Regions from separate parts of the Homo sapiens genome. Here region 1 is linked to region 2. The links are contacts of gene promoters, found by promoter capture Hi-C in human tissues and cell types (Jung and others, 2019). All regions are on one chromosome and are shown on one strand. Each heading gives the region's core, a stretch centred on a gene start or on the middle of the fragment in contact. The rest is flanking DNA. Distances are from core to core; before and after follow the strand shown.

Region 1 (5,616 bases), core at 2,439-4,938, 110 kb before region 2:
ATGTTTAAGATTTGGAAAGCTTAAATCCTCTGAAGATGCCATTACTCCCCAAATTGATCTACAGATTCAATGCAATCTGTATCAGAATCTTGGCTGTCTTTTTTTTTTTTTTTTTTTTTTTTGCAGAAATTGACAAGCTGATTCTAAAATTCGTATAGAAATTCAAGAGGCCTGCATGCTTTAGCATCCTGGTGCTGCTATACTGCAGAGCCCTGTGGTCCCTTAGCCAAGCTGCCTGAGGAAACCCAGACCCAAAACCAACCGATGGAGGAAGAAGAGGTTGAGATGTTTGCCTTTCAAGCAGAAACTGTCCAGTTGATGTCACTGATCATCAATACTTTCTACTTGAACAAAGAAACCTTTCTGAGAGAGCTCATTTCAGCATTTTTTTTTTTAGCTTTTTATTTTTATTTTGGACACAGCATCTCACTCTGTCACCCAGTCTGAAATGCAGTGGGGTGATCTCGGCTCACTGCAGCCTCCACCTCCCGGGCTTAAGTGATTCTCATGCGTCAGCCCCTGACAAGCTGGGACCATCGGCATGTCCGTCATGCCTGGCTAACTTTTTGTATTTTGGGTAGCGATGGGGTTTCACCATATTGCCCAGGTGGGTTTCACCATATTACCCAGGCTGCTCTTGAACTCCTGACCTCAAGCGATCCACCCACCTTGGCCTGCCAAAGTGCTGGGATTACAGGAGTGAGCCACAGTGCCTGGCTCAAGAGAGCTCATTTCAAATTCATCAGATGCTTTGGACAAAACCTGATATGAAACCTTGACGGATCCCAGTAAATTAGACGCTGGGAAAGAGCTCCACGTTAATCTTATGCCAAGCACACAAGATCAAACCCTTACTATTATGGATACTGAAACTGGAATGACCAAGGCTGACTTGATCAATAACCTTGGTACTGTCGCCAGTCTGGGACCAAAGCATTCATGGAAGTTTTCCAGGCTGGTGCAGAATCTCTATGATTGGCAAGTTCGGTGCTGGTTTTTATTCTGCTTATTTGGTTGCTGAGAAAGTAACTGTGATCACCAAACATAAACATGAGCAGCATGCTCGGGAGTCCTCCTCAGGGGGATCACTCACAGTTAGGACTGACACAGTGAACCTATGGGGCATGGAGCAAAGGGCACCCTGCACTTGAAAGAAGACCTGAGTATTTGGAGGAAAGAAGAATAAAAGAGATTGTGAAGAAGCATTCTCAGTTTATTGGCTATCCCATTACTCTTTTTGTGGAGAAGAAACGTAATAAACAAGTCAGTGATGCTGAGGCTGAAAAAAAGGAAGATAAGAGGAAGAAAAAGAAAGAGTCCAATGACAAACCTGAAATTGAAGATGTTGGTTCTGATGAAGAAGAAGAAAAGAAGGATGCTGACAAGAAGAAGAAGAAAAGTAAGGAAAAGTACATTGATCAAGAACTCAACAAAACAAAGCCTATCTGGACCAGAAATCCTGACGCTATTACTAACGAGGAGTATGGAGAGTTCCATCAGAGCTTGACCAATAACTGGGAAGATCACTTGGCAGTGAAGCACTTTTCAGTTGAAGGGCAGTTGGAAGAGTTGAAGGACAGTCGAAGAGTTTAGAAGAGCTCTTTTTGTTTCAAGATGTGCTCCTTTTGACCTATTTGAAAACAGAAAGAAAAAGAACAACATTCAGTTGTATGTACACAGAGTTTTCATCATGGGTAACTGTGAGGAGCTAATCCCTGAATACCTGAACTTCATTAGAGGGGTGATGGACTCAGAGGATCTCCCTCTAAATATTTTTTCTGAGATGTTGCAACAAAGCAAAATTTTGAAAGTTATTAGGAAGAATTTGGTCAAAACATACTTAGAACTCTTTGCTGAACTGGCAGAGGATAAAAAGAACTACAAAAAGTTCCACGAGAAGTTATCTGAAAACATAAATCTTTGAATATATAGACTCTCAAAATCAGAAGAAGCTTTCAGAGCTGTTGAAATAGTGCACATCTGCCTCTCGTGATGAGATGGTTTATCTCATTGTGTTTTCCAGAATGAAGGCAAACCAGAAACATATCTATTACATTACAGGTGAGACCAAGGACCAAGTAGCTAACTCAGCCTTTGTGGAATGTCTTCAGAAGCATGGCTTAGAAGTGATCTATATGATCGAGTTGATTGATAAGTACTGTGTCCAGCAGCTGAAGGAACTTGAGAGTAAGACTGTAGTGTCAGTTGCCAAAGAGGGTTTGGAACTTCCAGAAGATGAAGAAGAAAAAAAGAAACAGGAAGAGAAAAAAACAAAGTTTGAGAACCTCTGCAAAATCATGAAAGACATGTTGGAGAAAAAAGTCAAAAAGGTGGTTGTGTCAAACTGGTGACATCCCCATGCTGTATTGTCACAAGCACATATGGCTGGACAGCAAACATGGAAAGAATCATGAAAGCTCAAGCCCGGTAAGACAACTCAACAATGGGCTACGTGGCAGCAAAGAAACACCTGGAGATAAACCCTGACCATTCATGATTGAAACCTTAAGGCAAAAGGCAGAGGCTGATAAGAACAACAAGTCAGTGAAGGATCTGGTCATCTTGCTTTACTAAACTGCACTCCCATCTCCTGGCTTCAGTATGGAAGACCCTCAGAGACATACTAACAAGATCTATAGGATGATCAAACTTGGTCTGGGTGTTGATGAATATGATCCTACTGCTAATGATATCAATGCCGCTATAACTAAAGAAATGCCGCCCCTCAGAGGAGGTGATGACACATCACGCATGGAAGAAGTAGGCGGCTCTGGCTGAGGAATGACTTGTACATGTGTTCAATACTCTATCTTCATTCTCTCTGATAATATATTTTCAGGATTATTTTAGTTATTTTTGTTAACATTTAAAAAGTCTGTATGGGGGCCGGGCGTGGTGGCTCACACCTGTAATCCCAGCACTTTGGGAGGCTGAGGCAGGTGGATCACCTGAGGTCAGGAGTTCGAGACCAGCCTGGCCAACATGGCGAAACCCAATCTCTACTAAAAAAAAACAAAATATTAGCCGGGTGTGGTGGTGTGCACCTGTAATCCCAGCTACTCAGGAGGCTGAGGCAGGAGAATCATGTGAACCCAGGAGGCGGAGGTTGCTGTGAGCTGAGATCACGCCATTGCACTCCAGCCCGGGAGAAAGTGGGAGACTCTGCCTTCAAAAAAAAAAAAAAAAAAGTCTGCATGGCATGACAATAACTATTTCAGGGGGAAGGTAAGGTTTCTTTCTACTTCTAAGTGATTTTGTGATACTTCTAAGTGATTTTGTGATACTTCAGGCACTAAAACAGAGCTAGCAATGCTTTTCTAGTTTCACATTGGCTTATTTTAACAGATTGGGGTAATGTGTGTTGTAAGATGTATGTAGGCTGGGTGCGGTGGCTCACGCCTGTAATCCCAGCACTTTGGGAGGACGAGGCGGGTGGATCACCTGAGGTCAGGAGTTCAAGACCAGCCTGGCCAACATGACAAAACCTCGTCTCTACTAAAAATACAAAAATTAGTTGGGTGCTATGGCAGGTGCCTGTAATCCCAGGTACTCGGGAGGCTGAGGCAGGGGAATTGCTTGAACCCAGGAAGTGGAGGTTGCAGTGAGCCAAGATCACGCCACTGTACTCTAGCCTGGGCAACAGAGAGAGACTCCACCTCAAAAAAAAAAAAAAAGAAAGAAAGAAAGAAAGAAAAGAAAAAAAAAAGATGTATGTAACCTAACATTAACTTTGTGATCTAAACTGTTTAAGCTATCAAGCCAGATTCCTTAGTAGGCCAAATCTTTGTCACTGAAGTTTTCTGAGAAATACCTTGATGTTTAGAGGAAAAGTATTTGTTGCATCTTCTAGGATCTACTTTTTAAACTTTTCATCCTGTAGTTGCCAATTCTGCATGTAATTGTCCTCTGGAAATATGTTAAACTGAAGCAACTTGATGGAAGGAACTCTCCACAGGACTTGTTTTCCAAAGGAAAATATTGTTTGCAGGAGCAAAATTATAAGCCTACCTAGGCATATTGTAAAGCTGTTCAGAAATAACCCAGAGCGAGGCTTGTGAATGGAACTGTAGTACCCAAGTCACATTCTGCTTAAAAAGGTTGTAACAAATACAGATGAGTTTAAAAGAAAAAAAAAAAAAAGGCAGAAATGCAACAGGCCCAGAATAATCAAAACAATCCTGGAGCAGAACACAGTTGGTAGACTCACACTTCCTCATTTCAAAACGTACTGCAGGCCAGGCGCGGTGGTTCATACCTGTAATCCCAGCACTTTGGGAGACCGAGGCGAGGGGATCGCCTGAGGTCAGGAGTTTGAGACCAGCCCGGCCAAAGTAGCAAAACCCCATCTCTACTAAAAATACAAAAATTAGCTGGACATGGTGGCGTGTGCCTGTAATCCCAGCTACTCGGGAGGCTGAGGAAGGAGAATCGCTTGAACCCAGGAGGTGGAGGTTGCAGTGAGCCGAGATCGTGGCACTGTACTTCAGCCTGAGAGACAGAGCAAGACTCCATCTTAAAAAAAAAAACTTACTACAAAGATATTGTAATCAAGATAGTGTGATACTGGCATAAGGAAAGACATATAGGTCAACGAAATTCGAATGGAGAGTTCATAAATAAACCCTAACATTTACGGTCAATTTATTTTCTACAAAGGGAACAAAATAATTCAATGATAAAAAGAATAGTTTTTTTCAGCAAATGGTGCTTAGACAACTGGATATCCACATGCAAAAGAATGTCTTTGGACCCCTACCCCTCACACCATACACAAAAATCAACTCAAAATGGATCACAGTCCTAAACATAGGAGCTAAATGTTTTCTTAGAAGAAAACATAGCAGTTAATCTTCACGATCTTGGGGTGGGCTATGATTTCTTATATATGACTATTATAAGCACAAACGATAAAAAAGAAAGATAGATAAGCCTGGGCGCGGTAGCTCATGCCTATAATCCAAGCACTTTGGGAGGTCTAGGCAGGCGGATCACCTGAGGTCAGGAGTTTGAGGCCAGCCTGACCAACATGGAGAAACCCTGTCTCTACTAAAAATACAAAATTAGCCGGGCGTGGTGGCGCATGCCTGTAATCCCAGCTACTTGGAAGGCTGAGGCAGGAGAATCACTTGAATCCGGGAGGCGGAGGTTGTGGTGAGCTGAGATCACACCATTGCAATCTACCCTGGGCAACAAGAGGGAAACTCTATCCCAAAAAAAGAAGAAGAAGAAAGGAAGGAAGGAAGGAGGGAGGGAGAGAAGGAAGGAGGGAGGGAGGGAGTGAGGGAAGGAAGGAAGGAAGGAAGGAAGGAAGGAAGGAAGGAAGGAAGGAAGGAAAGAAGAGCAAGGAAGGAAGGAAGGAAGGAGAAATTGGACTTTATCAAAATTTAAAACTATCATGCTTTAAATAAACCATCAAGAAAGTGAAAAAAGAACCCACAGGCTGGGAGACAATATTTGAAGGTCATATATCTGATACAGGATATGTACCCTGAATACATAAAGAGCTCTTACACCTGAACAATAAATAAACAAATAATCAACGAAAAAGAGCAAAGAATTTGAATAGTCATTTCTCCAAAGAAGATACACAAATGGCCAGTAAGCACATGAAGGCCG
Region 2 (5,002 bases), core at 2,424-4,923:
TCTGGAGGTTGAGGCATGAGAATCACTTGAACCCGGGAGGCGGAGGTTGCAGTGAGCTGAGATTGAGCCATTGCACTCCAGCCTAGGCAAAACAGTGAGACTGTGTTTCAAAACAAACAAACAAACAAACAAATAAAAAAAACTACCCCCCCCCACACCAACTGGCTGGGCATGGTGGCTCACACCTGTAACCCCAGTACTTTGGGAAGCCAAGGAGGAAGGATCCTTTGAGCTCAAGAGTTCAAGACTGCAGTGAGCTATGATTGTGCCACTCCACTCCAGCCTGGGTGACAGAGTGAGACCCTGTCTCTGAAAAAAAAAAAAAAAAGAAAAGAAAAGACAAACCGAAGTGTTTAGGGGTAAAGAGGTCGGATGTGTAAAACTTAATTTGAAATGGTTCAGAAAAAAATGCTTTATTTGCAACTTTTGTAGAAGTTTTGAAGTTATTTTGAAATACAAAATTTAAAAATTAATTGTTTAATTGACGTCTTTCGTGAGGGGAGGGGCTACCACTGTCTTGTTTTCTGCTGTAGTTCCAGCTCTAGCACACCGCAGGCTTCAACAAGAAATATTTCTTGAGTGAACAAATGAATTAATGAACTAAACCATCTTCCAATTTGGGTTTCAGGCAGGGGCTGGGATTTTGGAAGTCAAGCTTTAGACAGCAAGAGGCAAAATTCCTCTTTTTCTCTAGGTATATCTCTTCTGGAGCTCCAATCTGAGAGGGTAGATCATCTATAGTTTGGGGAAATAAGACCTCTGCCCTCCAAAGGCCGACAGGCAGCCCACAAGCAGGAGATAATTGAGTTGTGCTTTGCAACAAGAAGACCTGGCTGAGTGCCATTTTCTAAGTCAGTTCCCTAAGGTTCACCCTATTCCCCACATCACCACCACCCTTGGTTAAGATTTGTTTTTTAATTTTTAATTGTTATGGAGATAGGGTCTCCCTATGTTGTCCAGGCTGGTCTCAAACTCCTGGCCTCAAGGGATTCTCCTGCCTTAGGCTCCTGAAGTGCTGGCATTACAGGTGTGAGCCACCGCCAGCCAGTTAAAAGCTTTTATAATATCCATTACTATTACTCTTGTAATGCAGCACTTATCTCAAGCTACTGTAACTGTATATTTGTCTGCCCTTTTCACTAAAGTGTGAGACTCTCCTAGGCAGAAGCTAAGTCTTTTCAGCTCAATATCCTCCTATGGGCCAGGCGCAGTGGCTCATGCCTATAATCCTAGCACTTTGGGAGGCTGAGGCAGGCAGATTGCCTGAGCTCAGGAGTTCAAGACCAGCCTGGACAACATGGTGAAACCCTGTCTCTACTAAAAATCCAAAAAATTACCCAGGCATGCTGGTGCTCGCCTGTAATCCCAGCTTCTCAGGAGGCTGAGGCAGGAGAATCACTTGAACCTGGGAGGCAGATGTTGCATGCAGTGAGCCGAGATCGCTCCACTACACTCCAGCCTGGACGACAGGGCGAAACTCTGTCTCAAAAAATATATCTATATATCTATATCTATATGTATATCATCTATATCATCTATTCTCCTATGACTACCACGTAGCCCACCCCATGCTATCCCTCAGCCCGGCCTCAGATCTGGAATCTGGTTCCTGTGCTGTCCCCTTCTGCCCTTGGCTGTCATGCTGCTGCCTCACCACCAGAGGGCCTTCCAGCTGGGCCTCAGAGACCCTTCTTACTGCCCCACCCAAGGTGCCAGGCAGCCAGCACTGGCTCCCCACCCCCTGCCCCTCATCCTGCAGGGTGCCCTATGCTTTTTGTGGAGCCATTCACCTGTCTCTCCCTCCATTTGCCTCAGCTAAGGAGACCTTCCTAGCAAGATCTCAGGGTTGGTCCAGCTTTGCAGCAAAGTTTGACTTCTGCCAGTGTGTGTGTCTGGTCTCTGATAGGGATGCTATCTTCCTGGGAGGCTGTCTTACATCTAAGCTCTCCTCAGGACCAAACAGAAGGACCTCTTTTTCCATTTCCATGTGTCGGAGACCTCCCTAATGACTGCTATTTGCAACCTCATGTTTGTCCAAGGGCTACATGTAGCTCTTGGTTCATTTGTAGAAGGGGCAGAGCACAAGGTGCTTGTGGAAAGGTGGCCACTGCCTGGACCTTTGTGAGGCCCTCAGGGCCAGGGCTGGTCCTACCTGAGGCCCTGGATCACCTGGAGGGACCATCAGCCCATCCACTGTTTCTCCCTAGGCCTGAAAGAGGGACCCTCGTTCAGGATGAAGCTGAGAACAGACTCAGTAGAGAAAGGGGGAGAGAGGTGAATGGAACCATGACCCAGGTAGTATGGAAAGAGGGCTAGGACCCAGCTGGAGCTCCCTGTGTGTTGGGTACGTGTGACTGTGTCTGTGCTCCCTGTATCATTCCTGTGCATTTCCACCCATGAAATTCCCTGGGAAAAGGTCAAGCTCTCTCCACCATGCTAAGTAGGGTGAGCAAAGGAGATGGTTGGGGTTGAGGGCTCAGATACTCAAGGAGGCAGGGATCCCCCGGGGGGATGATCCCTGGTGATAGTGATTGAAATCAGAAGGAGAGAGTTAATGCGGAGGAGTGAGAACCATGGGCCCGACTCGAAAGCTCACTTCCTACTGGCTGTCCTCCATCCCCAGCTCTCCTCAAGCTCTCTCTGCAGAATCTCAGTATGGCATCTGCCAAAAAGCTTACATGGATGATCCCCAAACATGGTCATCTCCTCTCACTTCCCCAGGGCTCTCAGACTCTTCCTTGGGGGACCTGGGAGAGGTTTTCCGGACCTTCCTACTTTTTGACAGCATAACACTGTCAAGCACATGCAAAGTCTGCCAATAACAAGGGGCCCTCCTGACAAGCAGAGATGTTTTCTCTTCAGGGCTGCGGTGATGGGTGGGGGTCACTGCTATGAGGGGACGGTCTGCAGCCATAAGAAGGCTCTTCAGGCTAGAAGGCTTCACTCCCAAGGCCCGCACAGCTGAAGAGACCAAGGGGTTATAGGCTGAGGGCGCTATTGTGCACACCCTCCCACCCCAGCAGAAGTGGTTGGCACTGCAGCGATGCCAAGGCCGGCTGCTTGGGGGTGGGAGGAGGTCGCTGCAGTGATGAGGAATCCCTGCTTGGAGTGAGTGGTCACTGAAGTGGCTGCATGAACTAAAAGTACCTGCAGGGATGGGGGAGGTTTTCTGCAGTGATGAAGAGCACTTTGCAAAGGAAAGGGGCCAGCTTCTTGGGGGAAGAGTCCTGCGGTGACGGTGATGGGGGGCTGGGGGGTTCGCTGCAGTCAGGAGGGAGGGTCTCTGCAGCGATGGGAAGCAACCCAGGGCAGGGGGTGGGGTGGGCTGGGGAATGGGATGCCGTCGTGGTAATGGGATAGCTGGGGTCGCGGCAGTGTCGGTGGCACTTGCAGGACGCCTGATTCCTGAAGAATGGAAAGGGTGGGGTCTCTGAGGCCTCGGTCCTGCAGTGACGGGGATCCGTGCGGCGGCGGGGACGCGGTCCCTGCACTGCGGTGCCCAGTCTGGCTCGGGCTGCCGCGGCTGGCGCGGAGGCGGTACCGCGCCCGAAGGAGGGGGGAGCGCCAGCCCCGCCGCAGCAGCAGCAGGCGTGGCCAGGGCAGGCTGGAGGGGCGGCCTCTCGGAACGGGGGCGGGACCACCGCCGGCAGGGCCCGCGCCCCTGCCGGGACTCAGAGCCGCTGCAGCCACAGTCACGAACTGGCGGCCGGCAGGTGCCGGGACCGAGGGCCACCCGGAGCGCAGAGGCGGCACCACCCACACGGATCCCGTGGGCACCTAGAACTCCGCGGAGGGCGCGACGGTGAGGCTGAGACTGCCACAGGGAGCGGGGCGATCCCCAGAGCCAGCCCGCGGCATCCCCTGCGCGGGCCGCGGCCACTGCAGGTGCCCCCTCCTCCCACATCAGCTCTGCCGGGGTAGGGAGCGGTAACCTGGCGGCTCCCACGGACTCTCCCTGGCCCGACACCTCTCCCGGGCTTGCCTCCCAAAGACCCCCTCTTTTCGCTTTCCCAGCTCGTTCTTCCCACCCTTAACCCCTCCACTCCGGCCAGCACCCCCGTCGGATGAGGCACCAGGGAGAGAAAGACCAAGGCCCTTTCGGCGCCCCATCCACCCTGCCCCCGCGATCCCTCGCAGGGCCGGGGGCCTCCGGGGGGATTCGGGCCCTTTAAACCTCCGCCTTCCCGGAGCATCTTCCATCTCCACCCGCGCCGCTTCCGACAGCTGGCGGCCGCGGGGGGCCCCGGGGGGCCGGCAGGTACGGGGGTGGCTGCGAGGTTGGGAGTGGGCGGTGGAACAGCTGTGACCGCCCCCACCCCCGGGGGAGCCGCGGCGGGACTGCTGGGCGCCGAAGCGCGCGTTAATCATTAACCCTCCGCGGCCCGGCTGCCCAGGTAACGCGTGAGGATGCCCTCCTCGCCACCACGCCTGCCGCCCCCTTATCTCCCCCGCCACCTGTCGCCCTCAGGAGCTCCCGCTCGGCCTCGCGCCCCGGCAGGCCCCGTCCGGGTGCTGGAGTGAGACTCTCGCGCTGGCCTCTGGAGCGCGGGGTGGGCGTCCCGTCACCCTGCGCCCAGCTTCCCCGGCCCGTTCCCGCAGGGCCGGCCTCCCGGCGCCATGCCCGGCCTGTACTGCCCCTCCAGCTGGACGCCGCTGCCGCTCACGGACTCCTGGGTCCGGGCCTGCGCCAACGGCCCCTGCCTCAGCGTGCGGGCCCGGCTCACCTACCGCAACCCGCAGCCGCAGCCGGTGGACGGTGAGGCCCGGGTGGGGCGCGGGCGCGGCGGGGGGTGCGCCGGGCAGGGTCCGACGCCGCCTCCCGCCGCCCTCCCCAGGCGTGTTCGTGTACCCGCTGGCCGAGGCCGAGGTGGTGTCCGGCTTCGAGGCCGAGGCCGCCGGACGGCGCGTCTCCTTCCAGCTGCAGAGCCGGCGCCGCTCGCAGGCCGCCTGCTGCCGCGCTCTGGGCCCGGGGCTGGGGACCCCGACGCCCCGCCGCTGCGCG

The links. The method cuts DNA at HindIII sites, captures the fragments that hold promoters and counts their contacts. A contact is called where the count stands out against the background at its distance.
Region 1: a fragment that was not itself captured here is called in contact with the fragment with the promoter of VWA5B2 in region 2 in 2 of the 25 tissues and cell types used here (H1 embryonic stem cells and IMR-90 fibroblasts).

What each region holds. Positions count from the first base shown.
Region 1 is chr3:184,115,121-184,120,736 of GRCh38, forward strand. It overlaps the pseudogene HSP90AA5P. Among named protein-coding and RNA genes, the nearest start is that of HTR3E-AS1, 13 kb to the left of the region's middle. The HindIII fragment of the contact is 9,466 bases long and covers 1-5,616 here.
Region 2 is chr3:184,225,912-184,230,913 of GRCh38, forward strand. VWA5B2 (von Willebrand factor A domain containing 5B2) reads left to right here and starts at 3,674. Exons shown (of 20, transcript NM_001390846.1): 1 at 3,674-3,802; 2 at 4,469-4,756; 3 at 4,836-5,002. The coding sequence starts at 4,618. RefSeq lists a silencer at 3,442-3,781. The HindIII fragment of the contact is 9,993 bases long and covers 1,865-5,002 here.